3 separate regions of the Homo sapiens genome follow, and regions 1 and 3 are each linked to region 2. Evidence: promoter capture Hi-C in 16 types of primary human blood cells and fetal thymus (Javierre and others, 2016). All regions are on one chromosome and are shown on one strand. Each heading gives the region's core, a stretch centred on a gene start or on the middle of the fragment in contact. The rest is flanking DNA. Distances are from core to core; before and after follow the strand shown. Region 1 overlaps DTWD1 (DTW motif tRNA-uridine aminocarboxypropyltransferase 1). Region 2 holds the start of COPS2 (COP9 signalosome subunit 2). Region 3 overlaps SHC4 (SHC adaptor protein 4).

What was found. The method cuts DNA at HindIII sites, captures the fragments that hold promoters and counts their contacts. A CHiCAGO score of 5 or more calls a contact.
Region 1: a fragment that was not itself captured here is called in contact with the fragment with the promoter of COPS2 in region 2 in 1 of 17 cell types (naive CD4 T cells); the score reaches 5.2 in naive CD4 T cells.
Region 3: a contact is called between a fragment that was not itself captured here and the fragment with the promoter of COPS2 in region 2, in 1 of 17 cell types (naive CD4 T cells). The highest score is 6.1, in naive CD4 T cells.

What each region holds. Positions count from the first base shown.
Region 1 is chr15:49,628,790-49,633,123 of GRCh38, forward strand. DTWD1 (DTW motif tRNA-uridine aminocarboxypropyltransferase 1) reads left to right here. Exons shown (of 5, transcript NM_001144955.2): 3 at 3,370-3,513. Among named protein-coding and RNA genes, the nearest start is that of DTWD1, 9.9 kb to the left of the region's middle. The HindIII fragment of the contact is 1,476 bases long and covers 538-2,013 here.
Region 2 is chr15:49,154,006-49,158,066 of GRCh38, forward strand. COPS2 (COP9 signalosome subunit 2) reads right to left here and starts at 1,594. Exons shown (of 13, transcript NM_004236.4): 1 at 1,520-1,594. The coding sequence starts at 1,573. It also overlaps a transcript of GALK2 not described here and the pseudogene NDUFAF4P1. RefSeq lists enhancers at 1,340-1,869, 1,628-2,546. The HindIII fragment of the contact is 2,527 bases long and covers 725-3,251 here.
Region 3 is chr15:48,827,968-48,832,125 of GRCh38, forward strand. The region is part of intron 11 of SHC4 (SHC adaptor protein 4); the gene reads right to left. Among named protein-coding and RNA genes, the nearest start is that of CEP152, 19 kb to the left of the region's middle. The HindIII fragment of the contact is 182 bases long and covers 2,502-2,683 here.

The DNA of each region.
Region 1 (4,334 bases), core at 26-2,525, 470 kb after region 2:
CATACGAAGCCTCAGAGCAAATGTTTTTGTAGCTTGTAAAAAAGCAAATTTTTTTTCTTTCTTTTTTAATTATACTTTAAGTTCTTGGATACATGTGCAGAACTTGCAGGTTTGTTACATTGATACACATGTGCCCTGGTAGTTTGCTGCACCCATCATCTACATTAGGTATTGCTCCTAATGCTATCCCTCCCCTAGCTCCCCACCCCCAGACGGGCTCCAGTGTGTGATGTTCCCCTCCCTGTGTCCATGTGTTCTCCTTGTTCAACTCCCACTTATGAGTGAGAACATGCGTTGTTTGGTTTTCTGTTCCTGTGTGGTCAACACTATTTTGTTACTCTGTACTCTTGTCATTATTTAAGAAATAATCTTCTTTTAACATGTGTGAACTAGAACACAAACATGGATTTCCATGATTTGATCTGTTTCTGTGCTTTGGTTTTATGATGTGAGAGATCTCACGCTCATGGAAAACTAACAATACCTTGGATTGTGTACAGGTTTTGCATAATTATGCTTGCAGACTTTAGTTCATAAAGCTTTTTCTTTTATCATATAATTAAAAAAATAGGCTAGGCACATGATTTATAAAATTTGTCAATAACACTCCTGTGTTCTTGATATAAATGATACCCTCCAAGATAGCTAGCTGATCAGAAATATTGATAACTTTTGGAATTTTCAGCTTTACTCATCAGCCATATAAGAAGTTCACATTTATGATCTGCTTTCTTTTTCTTTTCTTGTCATGATCTGCTTTTTTTTCTTTTCTTACTTCCTACCTTCCCTGGGCTAAGATAATACTGATGTGGTGCTCAGAGACCCTAGGGAGAGGGAAGGTAGTTTCAACTGAGACCGAGCGTCATGAGGAAACTCTGATGTAGTGTTCAGCCAGAAGTAGACTGATGTAAAATCATTTGTGAACTGCCTACTTAAATGGTAAATTTTCCATAACTAGAAGTTGGTTTGATGATTAGAAGCAATTGGGCCTAACTTATAAATGATCATTGGGCCTAACTTATAAATGATTGCTAGGCCTAAGCGGGGAGGGTAGGAGATACAGCATTTGAAACCCTAATTGAAAACTATTTGAGGAATTCATTTGTAGGCCAAGGTCCTCCAGGGGTGTATTATTTATACTGTTCTGTCCCCAACATAATTGTCCAGGAAGAAAAAAATTTGAAATTGAAATTATTTAGTAGCTGCTCCATTCAAAAATAGTTTTGGAACTAATGACACACACACACACACAACATGGAAGAACCTCAAAATAATTATTCTTAGCTAAAGTCAAATGAAGAGGGTATATTGTATGATTTCATTTATATAAAATTCTAGAAAGTACAAACTATAGTGGCAGTGGATTACTGATTGCCTGAGGAGGGCAATTGTTGATGGTGAGAGGAGAAGGAAGAAGGGCTTGAGAAGACTTTTGATAGTGGCAAATCATTATTTTGACTGTAGCAGTGGATTCAAGAATTTAACATATGTTAAAACTTATTAGATTGTACACTTTAAATATGTACAGTTTAAGACATAAGAAAAATAGTTTTGTCCTCCAGGGTAAAATAGTGTGCCCAGGGTAAATTCCTAGAATCCTACTTATTTAGCATGGGATGGGAACTTGGAGATGGTGGGAACTACCAAATAAAACAAAAGGTCATTTAAAAGCTGAAGTCAAGAACACATCTCCAGAGGGTTTCTTATATATAGTAAGGGAGATATGATTTGGCATTTTTTTCATAATCATGGCTGAATGCAGTACTTGTATAAGCATTACAAAGAGAGCTAAACCAAAAAAGCCAAAGTGAAATAAGAAAAATATAATTTACAAAATCCAAGAGAATATTATTTTTGCATAGAGACATGTTACAGACAACATCTATAACAAATAATGAAACTTCAAGGGAAATACTTAGGCAACAGGGGTCCCCAATCCCCAGACCACAGACCAGTACCGGTCCTAAGGAACCAGGCCGCACACCAAGAGGTGAGCTGCTGGAGAGCAAGCGAAGCTTCCGTCTGTATTTACAGCCGCTCCCCATCACTCGCATTACCACCTGAGCTCTGCCTCCTGTCAGATCAGCGGCAGCATTAGATTCTCATAGGAGCATGAACCCTATTGTGAACTGTGCATACAAGGGACCTAGATTGCATGCTCCTTAGGAGAATCCAATGCCTGAAGATCTGTCACTGTCTCCCATGTCCTAGATGGGACCATCAAGTTGCAGGAAAACCAGCTCAGGGATCCTGCTGATTTTACATTATGGTGAGTTGTATAATTATTTCATTATATATTATAATGTAATAATAATAGAAATAAAGTGCACAATAAGTGTAATGTGCTTGAATCATCCCCAAACCCTCTCCCCAAACCCTGGTCTGTGGAAAAATTGTCTTCCACGAAACCAGTCCTTCTTGGTGCCAGAAAGATTGGGGAGTAGTTAGGCAAGATGATTTTGAAGACAGTTTTGTGATATAAAGATTACACCTCTTAGGTCTATTGTTACTATTTTTTAATTGATAATTATTTAATTTGTGCTATTGAAAATGTGATGCCGAAAATCATGATGTTTCCTGCAAAGGATAACAGTTTTGACTTGAAAGTATGTCTAAGGAACAGAATTTCAACTTGAATTTTAGATCTGAAGCTTTTTGCCCAAACTTACATTTCTTTTTAAAATAGCGTAAGAGGCCAGGTGTGGTGGCTCACTGGTAATCTCAGCACTTTGGGAGGCTGAGGCAGGCAGATCGCTTGAGGTCAGGAGTTCAAGACCAACCTGGCCAACATGGTGAAAACCTGTCTCTACTAAAAAAATACAACAATTAGCTGGGCATGGTGGCAGGTGCCTGTAATGCCAGCTACTTGGGAGGCTGGGGCAGAATTGCTTAACCCAGGAGACGGAGGTTGCAGTGAGCCGAGATCACACCACTGCACTGCAGCCTGGGTGGCAGAGTGAGAGTCCATCTCAAGATAAATAAATAAAAATAAAATAAAATGGCATAAAATAGGCAAACCTAAAGTTTATAGGATTTATTAAAATGTCCTTGGCACACATGGTGAAATGCAAAGAATTGGAGTTAATATAACTTAAGTGAAAATGACATTGGAGCTTTGCTTTAAGAGAAGATTCTCTGTTAAATGAGTTGAAAATAGTTGTCCTAATACATGAATAACAATGCCAAGGAAGAAATTTGGGTTGGTTTTGTAACAATCACCATTCTTAATATTATGGTATATCTTTTAAACCATATGCATATTTATAGGAGTTTATTGTGAGCTTCCTATTTAGCTTTAAAGACCCTTTTTATTAACATAAAAATTAAAATGTTTATATATTTTTTTATTTGTGCTTTTTTTACCTTTAGCTTCCATTGAAGATTGACATCATTAAACATCCAAATGAAACAGATGGCAAAAGTACTGCTATACATGCAAAACTCTTAGCACCTGAATTTGTAAACATTTACACGTATCCGTGTATTCCAGAATATGAAGAAAAGGACCATGAAGTAGGCAACTTAGTTTTTATAACTCTTCACATTGGATATAAAAATGAATTTTAACCTCCATTGCCTTTCTGAACTTACTCAAACATAATTTAATATTTTTCTTAGTAAAGTATTATGCTCAGGTAATGTTAGACAATATACAGTTTATTTCATTGATATCTTCAAAGATCAGATGTTTCTAGACTGCTATGCGTTTTTGAGTCTTTCTGCATTTTATAGCTCTTCTGCCTTATTTCTTCAGGTTTTTACTCCTTGCCAATACTATTGTGCCTGCTTTTACCTTTTCTCCTCTCCTTCTCCTGTTTGTGCTACATATAGATGATCTAATTTGATGCAAACTGGGAAACCAGATTACAAATATTGTTGGAATTTCTCTAAAAGAAGAAAGACTGAGTTAGGATATTCAGGAATCCTCCTAAATTAAGAGCTTTAGTGCATAGCCTTTATAACATTTCTTTTGGCTGCTCAGAGGCCTTCCTTGCTCATTTTTAGATTCTTAATTGGTTTTCACCCAGTTGCAATTGTCACATTGGTGAGAAATTATGGGTCTTCTTGCTGAAAAGTAATTTTACAATGTGTCTCAAAAAATTAAGGCCTTGGGTACTGAAAGAAGCATGTAAAAGCCTTTTGGTCTCTTGGAGGCCATTTGTTGGTGTGGCTAGTATAGAAACAAAATTAAAAATTAGTGCATTCATTTGTTCCAGGAAGAACTTGGTAAATTTTTACTTTCCTATTTATATCTATATCTATATATATATATATATATATGTATTTTTTTGGTTGAGTTTATATAAAAAATTATGTTTGTAAATAATATTTGA
Region 2 (4,061 bases), core at 344-2,843:
ATATTTCAAAATATCTAGAAGAGATGACTTTAAATATTCCCTAGACACAGAAATGATAAAAACACAAGGTGATGGATATCCTAAATACCGACTTGATCACTACATATCCTGTGCATGTAACGAAACCCCCCATAAATATGTACAAAATACTATGAATCAATTAAAAAAATACAAGCACATATAAAAGAAACATTTTGATAACAAAACACCTGTAATATAAATAAACAGGTAATAAGTAAAAATGGACAGATACATATTCTTAATGAACTGAAGTCACTGCCTACAACTGGCTTGCACAAACTAAAATGTAAGGTAGAAACCATAACTATTAGCGAAACTACATTTAACTTTAAAAATTATAAAAATCTCTACTATGACTTTCAAATAATAGCGAGAATTTCCTTTCTCCCTTTTGCAAAGTGTGCCTTATTTTAAAATGCAAAAAACTGAAAATATATACGAAAAAGTTATAGACTAATTCAAAACAATGTATTAATATTTTGACAATCTCTGGCACTTAAAATGAGTCAGACGTCCCAAAACATCTATTTCGTAACTTTATGATAATGCAGCATCACCATAAAAGAACCATATGAAACACCCCCAAAATAAAGAAACACAGCAAAATTGACGTTAATTCTGGATCAAGATAATTTTCTGAGTTTCCACACGATGTTTTTGAATAGCAAACGTTATTCAAACTTGCAAATCCATTAATAAATGAAGCTTTGAATCTTTAAAAATCTCCATTCGGTCAGAAAAATTCGTTTATTTCTATGCTGTTGCTGTTTTAAACTTTGTATACTGGGAAATTTCTAAGGGAAAAGCCATGGGTTCAATTATCTTTCACCCGTCCTCCAAAAACACCACAAGCAAAACCTCCTCCCCAGCTTTTCTTTATAAAGAACTGAAAAAGTGGTTCGACTACCTTTTTTTCAGTTATCTTTGCTCTGAACTCTCCCCTACACACTTACCTCGGACCAAAACTGGCCCTGGCAAGACTATTTAAGCTATGTCTCCAGGAGACTCACAAGTTGCGTTTCGCAGTCAGGCCTGGGAGCAGTAAGGACACCCCCGTTTTCTGACTTCTCCTAGCATTTCGCACCCGCTCAGTTCCAGTGTGAAGAAGTGGGGGCCCGGAACGCTGGGCCCGAAAGGGCAAAGCCAGGGCCTACACCGCAGCATGGTCACCGAGGCGGCTAGCGCGGTGGGGAGGCAGAAGACAGAGAACCGAACGCCTGGGACCAGGGGCATCCGTGTAAACCGAAGAGGCGCTCAGACTCGGAGGGCAAGGCCCGGGGCCCCCTTCGCTGCCTCCTTTGCCCTCCCTTCCCCCATGCTGGAGAAGCAGGGCCCGGGCCCGGTGCGGGAACGGGGAGGAGGTAAACCAGTCCTGTCACCGCACTGAGAGAGGCTGTAAACGGCACATGCTCTACGGGGAGAGGCCGCGGGCGCCCCGGCCCGGACCCCGAAAACAAGACACATCACCACCCTCAGAGTTCCATTCCCTGCGCCTCACCAGGTCGTAGTCCTCCTCATCATCGCACATGAAATCATCCTCCATGTCAGACATCTTGGCCGGGAGGGGGAGGAGAAATTGGAGACAACCTCCTCCCACAATCCTCCGCGGCTCAGAGGCGTCACTCTCAGCTTCTTTCCGCCTTCCAGTCCCTCTTAGAGGAGCTGTTTCCTGCCGGAACTAATTATCTCGACTTGTAGCTGATTCGCTACGACTCCAAAAGAGACTGCACCACCCCCCGTTTCCTCCGAAGTGGTTGGTGCCTTAGCAACTAAAGCTGGCAACTGGGACATCGTCCGGTGCTGCAGGTCTCAGCCGAAGGGCGTCGGAAACTGCGCTCGCATCGAGCAGTTTCCAGCCTCCTGGGTAAAGGAGCAGTCTCCTCCCTTGCTTGGGACTCTGGACGCATCTCATTCCGGTGAAAGTAAGGGACAGCTTAGGACCAGAAGCCTTTCGCGGAGAAAAGGCTGACATGCCCGTCCTATATGACAGGTATTATTTCTGCTATCATTGTACGTGTGCATTTAGCCCACACATTGCGGTGGGTGTTCCTAAGATACTTGGAGTACTTTTCAGCAACACAGTTTACACTTAATGCTTGTTATATTTGTAGTTGACAAAACAATTCTATGGATATCCTAAATTAGGTATGCAGCTATCAGTTGAGTTGCCTTAAATCTTACTCAGTTGTTCAACGAGTTGTAAACTGACCTTTACAGCCCTTGGGACCAAATTAAGGTAACAACGACTGGTTTTTAAAAAATACATTACTGTGAACCTGAGGGCATCATGTTGTAAGGAGATGGGGGCTGCGGTGACTCGCGGGATCAGGAATTTCAAGAGAACCGAGCGGAAAGGGAAATCCGCAACATGAAGCCCTCTCTCGCTCCCAGGCACCCCTCTACCAGCAGCCTCCTGCCAGAGCAGATTAGTCTCTATCCAGAAATTAAGGGAGAGATTGCTCGTAAAGATGACAAGCTGCTGTCATTTCTAAAATATGTGTGTGTTGATTCCAAAGATCCTGTGTCTTCCGTGCAGCTGAAAGCTGCTGAAACACGTCAGGAGCCAAAGAAATTCAGATTGCCGAAAGGCCATCACTTTGATATGATAAATATTAAGAGCATTCCCAAAGGCAAAATTTCCACTGTAGAAGCATTGACACTTTTCAATAATCATAAACTTTATCCAGAAACATGAACTGCTGAGAAAATAGCGCAAGAATATCATTTAGAACAGAAAGATGTGAATTCCCTTCTTAAATATTTTGTTACTTTTGAAGTCAAAATCTTCCCTCCTGAAGACAAGAAAGCAATACAATCAAAATGAAGAAAATCACAAAAATTTCCTATGTGTACTCCTCATCCCTCATCCTGTATATTTTCTTATTTTTGCATATTAAATTATGTTAATTACCAAGTGTTTAATGCTCTCATTGTGAGAGCATCCTCTTAATATTTATTGAGCTCCCTGAATTTTCAAGATTGCCATAGACTGTATTTTGTTTTCTTTTAATTTGGTTTAGGCATATTTCATATGTACATGTTAGCATGACTAATCAGCACATCTGTACCTTTATTATAAGTAAAAGAGTTAATTTGTTATTTTAGACACATCATACCAACTTTTAAATTGGTCATATGACCCCTTGGGAAGTGTCCTGAATCCCTCATTTAAGTTTTCCTATCCAATTTAGGTGTTTAGTTCATTCTTCATATGTGATAGTGAAAGTAAAAGCTTTCCTGACTCTTAAGACTGACATTTTCTTGCTAGGGAAAGAGACTCGATAGTAAGGTAGACTAACAGTATTTCCCAAATAAAGGCACATAGGAGAAAATAAAGAATCAATAAAATCTAATTAAAATTACTACCCCAGGGAATAAGAAGTATTGAGGATTTATTTTATTTTGAATTGGTTTTAAGTATGGAATAATTGTCTTTACAGTTATAAAAAGTAATTAGTGGTGTTTACGAAATGTTGGGAATTTCTGCTTTGACAAATAGTTAAGTCCCATGGCCTTCAGAGAGAGAGGCAGTAGTAGAAACTTTCGAAAAAGTAACATTTCTCTGGATTTAACATGGAACTAGAAAAATTTAAAGAATAATTAAAAAACCATGGTAAATGAAATTTGGTGATTATATATAGTTTTGGATGTTAATGCTAGTTGAGAGAAGAGAGAAAAAATAGCAAGTAGAAGCAGAGAACAGGATCATTGGAAGGGACCTGAGAAATTGCTGCTTTATCCATTTTAGCAAACTTATTAGCACGGCATGTACCAGTACTAGGATCTTGAGTAAGAGTGTGTGAGTTTAGCTCTGCCTAATATATTACTACTTGTGGGATCTTTGGGAGACTATGTCCTCTTTGAGATTGAATTTCTTCTATAAAATGAGCATAATGCTACCTTACTTAAATTTAAGGGTTATCATGAAGATAAGTGAAATAGTAAAGGACTACAAAAGACCAAGGGAATAATGAATTTTTTTTTTGTAGTGGAGAAACGCCTGGGGAGAATATATGACCTAAGGTTTCTGTAGTTTATGA
Region 3 (4,158 bases), core at 1,343-3,842, 330 kb before region 2:
GCCCAGCTTTATTCACTTACAGTACTGGCCTAGTCCTGCAGACACTTGTGTTTGTAACTTCACCCACACAAGATTTTTCACTGTGGTAAGAAACATATAACATGAGATCTGTTACATATGTATGTATGTGTGTGTGTGTGTGTGTGTGTATATATATATATATATATACATCTGTTATGTAACAGTTAATACTGTACTATACACTTAACAGATTTTTAAGTGTACAGTACAGTATTGTTAACTGTTAAGTACAACGTTATACAGCAGATCTCTGGAACTTTTTCATCTTGCATGACTGAAACTTTATACCCATCAAACAGCAACTACCCATTTCCTTGAGAACACTGTAGCATAGGACAGGATTTCCCTCTTTTCTATGGTTGTTCTATGGTGTTCCACTATATGGATATTATCATATTTCCTTTATCCATTTATTGTTTAGTGGATCTTAGTTTTCACCTCTTGACTATTGTGAATAATGCTGCAATAAACATGGGAGTGCAAACATCTTTTCAAGATCCTGCTTTCAGTTCTTTTGGATAATTACCCAGAAGTGAGGTTGCTAGATCATATGGTAGTTTTATTTTTAATTTTTCGAGAAACCTCCAAACTGTGTTCCATAGAGGCTGTACAATTTTACACACCCACCAATAGTGCACGAGGGCACCAATTCTTCATATCCTTGCGAACACCTGTTATTTTCTTCCTCTTTTTAAAAAAATAATGGCCATCTTAACAAGTGTGAGGTATTATCTCACTGTGGTTTTGATTTGCATTTTCCTGATGATTAATGATGTTGATTGAGCATGTTTTCATATACCCGTTGGTCATTTTTTGGTCTTTTTGGAGAAATCTCTATTCATTCAAGTCCTTTGCCTATGTTTTCATTGGTTGCTTTTATTTTTTTGCTATAGAGTTGTAGGCGTTCCTTATATATTTTGGATATTAACTCCTTATCAGATACATTGTTTGTAAATAGTTTCTCTCATTCTGTAGGTTGCCTTTTCACTAAGCTGATTGTTTTCTTTGCTGTGCAGAAGCTTTTTAGTTTAATGTAATGCCACTTCTCTAGTGTCCCTTTTGTTGCCTGTGGAAATACCAGTTTTCCTTCTGCCTCTAGTTTCATTCCACTGATACTTGTTATGATGTCAGCCTCTTAAATTTGTCAAGACTTGTCTTGTTATCTAACATAATCTATTCTGGAGAATGTTTTGTGTGCACTTGAGAAGAATATGTATTCTGTTGCTGTTGGATGGAATGTTCTGTATATGTATGTTAGATCCACTTGGTCCATAGTGTTGTTCAAGTTCTTTTTTTCCTCATTGATCTGTCTGGTGTTCTATCCATTATTGAAAGTGGAGCATTAAAATCCCCTACTATTATTGTTTTGCTGTCTATTTCCCCCTTTAGTTCTGTCAATGTTTGCTTCATATATTTGGGTACCCTGATGTGCATATATATTTATAATTATTATATCTTCCTGAAGAATTGATCCTTTTATCATTATATCATGTCCTTCTTTGTCTCTTTTGATATTTTGACTTAAAGTTTATTTTGTCCGATATAAGTATGGCCACTCCTGCCATTTTTTGGTTATCATTTTCATGGAATATCTTTTTCTAAACTTTCACTTTCAACCTACGTGTGTCCTTAAATCTAAAGTGAGTCCTTGCCAGGCGTGGTGGCTCACGCCTATAATCCCAACACTTTGGGAGGCCAAGCAGGTGGATTACCTGAGGTCAGGAGTTTGAGACCAGACTGGCGGACATGGTGAAACCTCGTCTCCACTAAAAATATATAAATTAGCTGGGCATGGTGGCGCACCCCTGTGGTCCCAGCTACTTGGGAGGCTGAGGCAGAAGAATCACTTGAACCCAGGAGGCGGAGGTTGTAGTGAGCTGAGATTGTGCCACTGCACTCCAGCCTGGGCAATAGAGCGAGACTCCGTCTCAAAAAAATAAATAAATAAAATAAAGTGAGTTTCTTATAGATAGCATGTAGTTGGAGCTTGTTTTTTTTTAATCAATTCAGCCACTCTATGCTTTTTGATTACAGAATTTAATATATTTACATTTAAAGTAGTTAATACTAGAGAAGAACTATTACCATTCTATTGTTTTCTGTCTTAAAGCTTTTTTTGGTCCTGTTTCTCCTTTCTTGCTGTCTTCCTTTGTGTTTCATTAATTTTTCATAGTGAATAGGCTTTAATTCCTTTATCATTTTGTTTTGTGTATCTTCTAGAAGTATTTTCTTTGTGATTACCATGGGGCTCGCATAAAACATAGCTATAACAATCTCTTTTAAACTGATAACACCTTAACTTCAATCACATACAAATACTCTACACTGTTATTTCTCCACACACAATTTTATGTTATTGATGTCACCAATTACATTTTTAAATTTTGTGTATTCATTAACATATTTTATAGTTACATAGTTATTGTTGCATAATAACATTTTGGTTAACAACAGACTGCATATACAATGGTGATCCCATAAGCTTATAATGAAGCTGAAAAATTCCTATTGCCTAATGCAATTGTCCTGAAGAATTGACTAATGAGTTGTTGGAACTGAAACAGGAAGGCATAGCTGAAGAGGAGGCAAAAGGAAAGGAAAGTGCAGGCAAAGAAAAAGAAGAAGAACCCCCCAAAAAATTAACAATAAAGAGTTTAGCAGAAGCTTTTTCAGACCTTAACAAGCTTCTTGAAAAGACTAAAAACATGGATCCCCAACACCAAAAGGTTTTCATTAATAGAAAAGAATGCTCATGTTGCATTATCTGCGTACGAGCAAATCTATGATGAAAAAAGAAACAAAGCAAGCAAACCGCCAAGGTCATATTTCTGAAAATAGTGACACTTTCTCAAGAGACTCAAGCAGGTCCTTTAGGAGATATTCTAGAATAAGGCATTGTTATCATAGGAGATGACAACTCCATGCAAGTTATTGCTCCTTAAAGACTGTGGAACAATATGTGGAGATAGAAGACAGTGATATTGATGATCCTGCCCCTGTCTAGTGCTAGCCTAATGTCTGTGTTTCTGTCTCTATTTTTAACAATAACAAAAAAGTTTAAAAGTAAAAAATAGAAATAAAAAATTTTAAAATAGGAAAAACCATATAGAATAAGGATATAAAGAAAGAAGATATTTTTGTACAGCTCTATAACCTATATTTTAAGCTAAGTGTTATTACAAAAAAGTCAAAAGATTAAAATAATTTAAATGTTTACAAAGTAAAAAAATTACAGTAAACTCAAGTTAATTTATTATTGAAGAAAGAAAATTAAAAAAAATAAACTTAGTGTGGTCTAAGTGCATAGTGTTTATAAAGTGTGCAGTAGTGTGCAGTAATGTCCTAGGTCTTTACATTCGCTCACCACTCACTCGCTGGCTCATCTGGAGCAATTTCCAGTCCTGCAAGCTTCATTCACAGTAAATGTTCTACATAGGTGTACCATTTCAAATCTTTTATATCCTATTTCACTGCACCTTTTCTATGTTTACATACACAAATATTTACCATTGTGTTACAATTGTCTACAGTATTCAGTACACTAACGTGCTGTATAGGTTTGCAACCTACAAGCAATAGGTTATACCATATAGCCTAGGTGTGTAGTAGGCTATACTATCTAGGTTTGTGTACATATATTCAAAAATGTTTGCACAATGAAAAAATCATCTAGCAATGTATTTCTCATAACATTTCCCCATTGTTAAGTGATATATGACTTATTTTTCACATTTTTGTCTTTTAACTTCTATAACCAGAATTAAAAGTTATTTACACACTGCCATTATAATATTACAGTATTCTGTGTTTTTCTATATATTTACCTTTACCAGCAAGCTTTGTACTTTCATATGCTTTCATGTTACTGTTTGGTATCCTTTTGTTTCAACTTGAAGGACTTTAGCATTTCTTGAAAGGCAGATCTAGTGCTAACAAACTCCTCATCTTTTGTTTATCTCAGAAAGTCTATATTTCTCTTTCATTTTTAAAGGATGGTTTTGGCCAGGAACGGTGGCTCACGCCTATAATCCCAGCACTTTGGGAGGCCAAGGCAGGTGGATAAACTGAGGTCTGGAGTTCAAGACCAGCCTGGCCAACATGGCAAAACCCTGTCTCTACTTAAAATACAAAAAATTA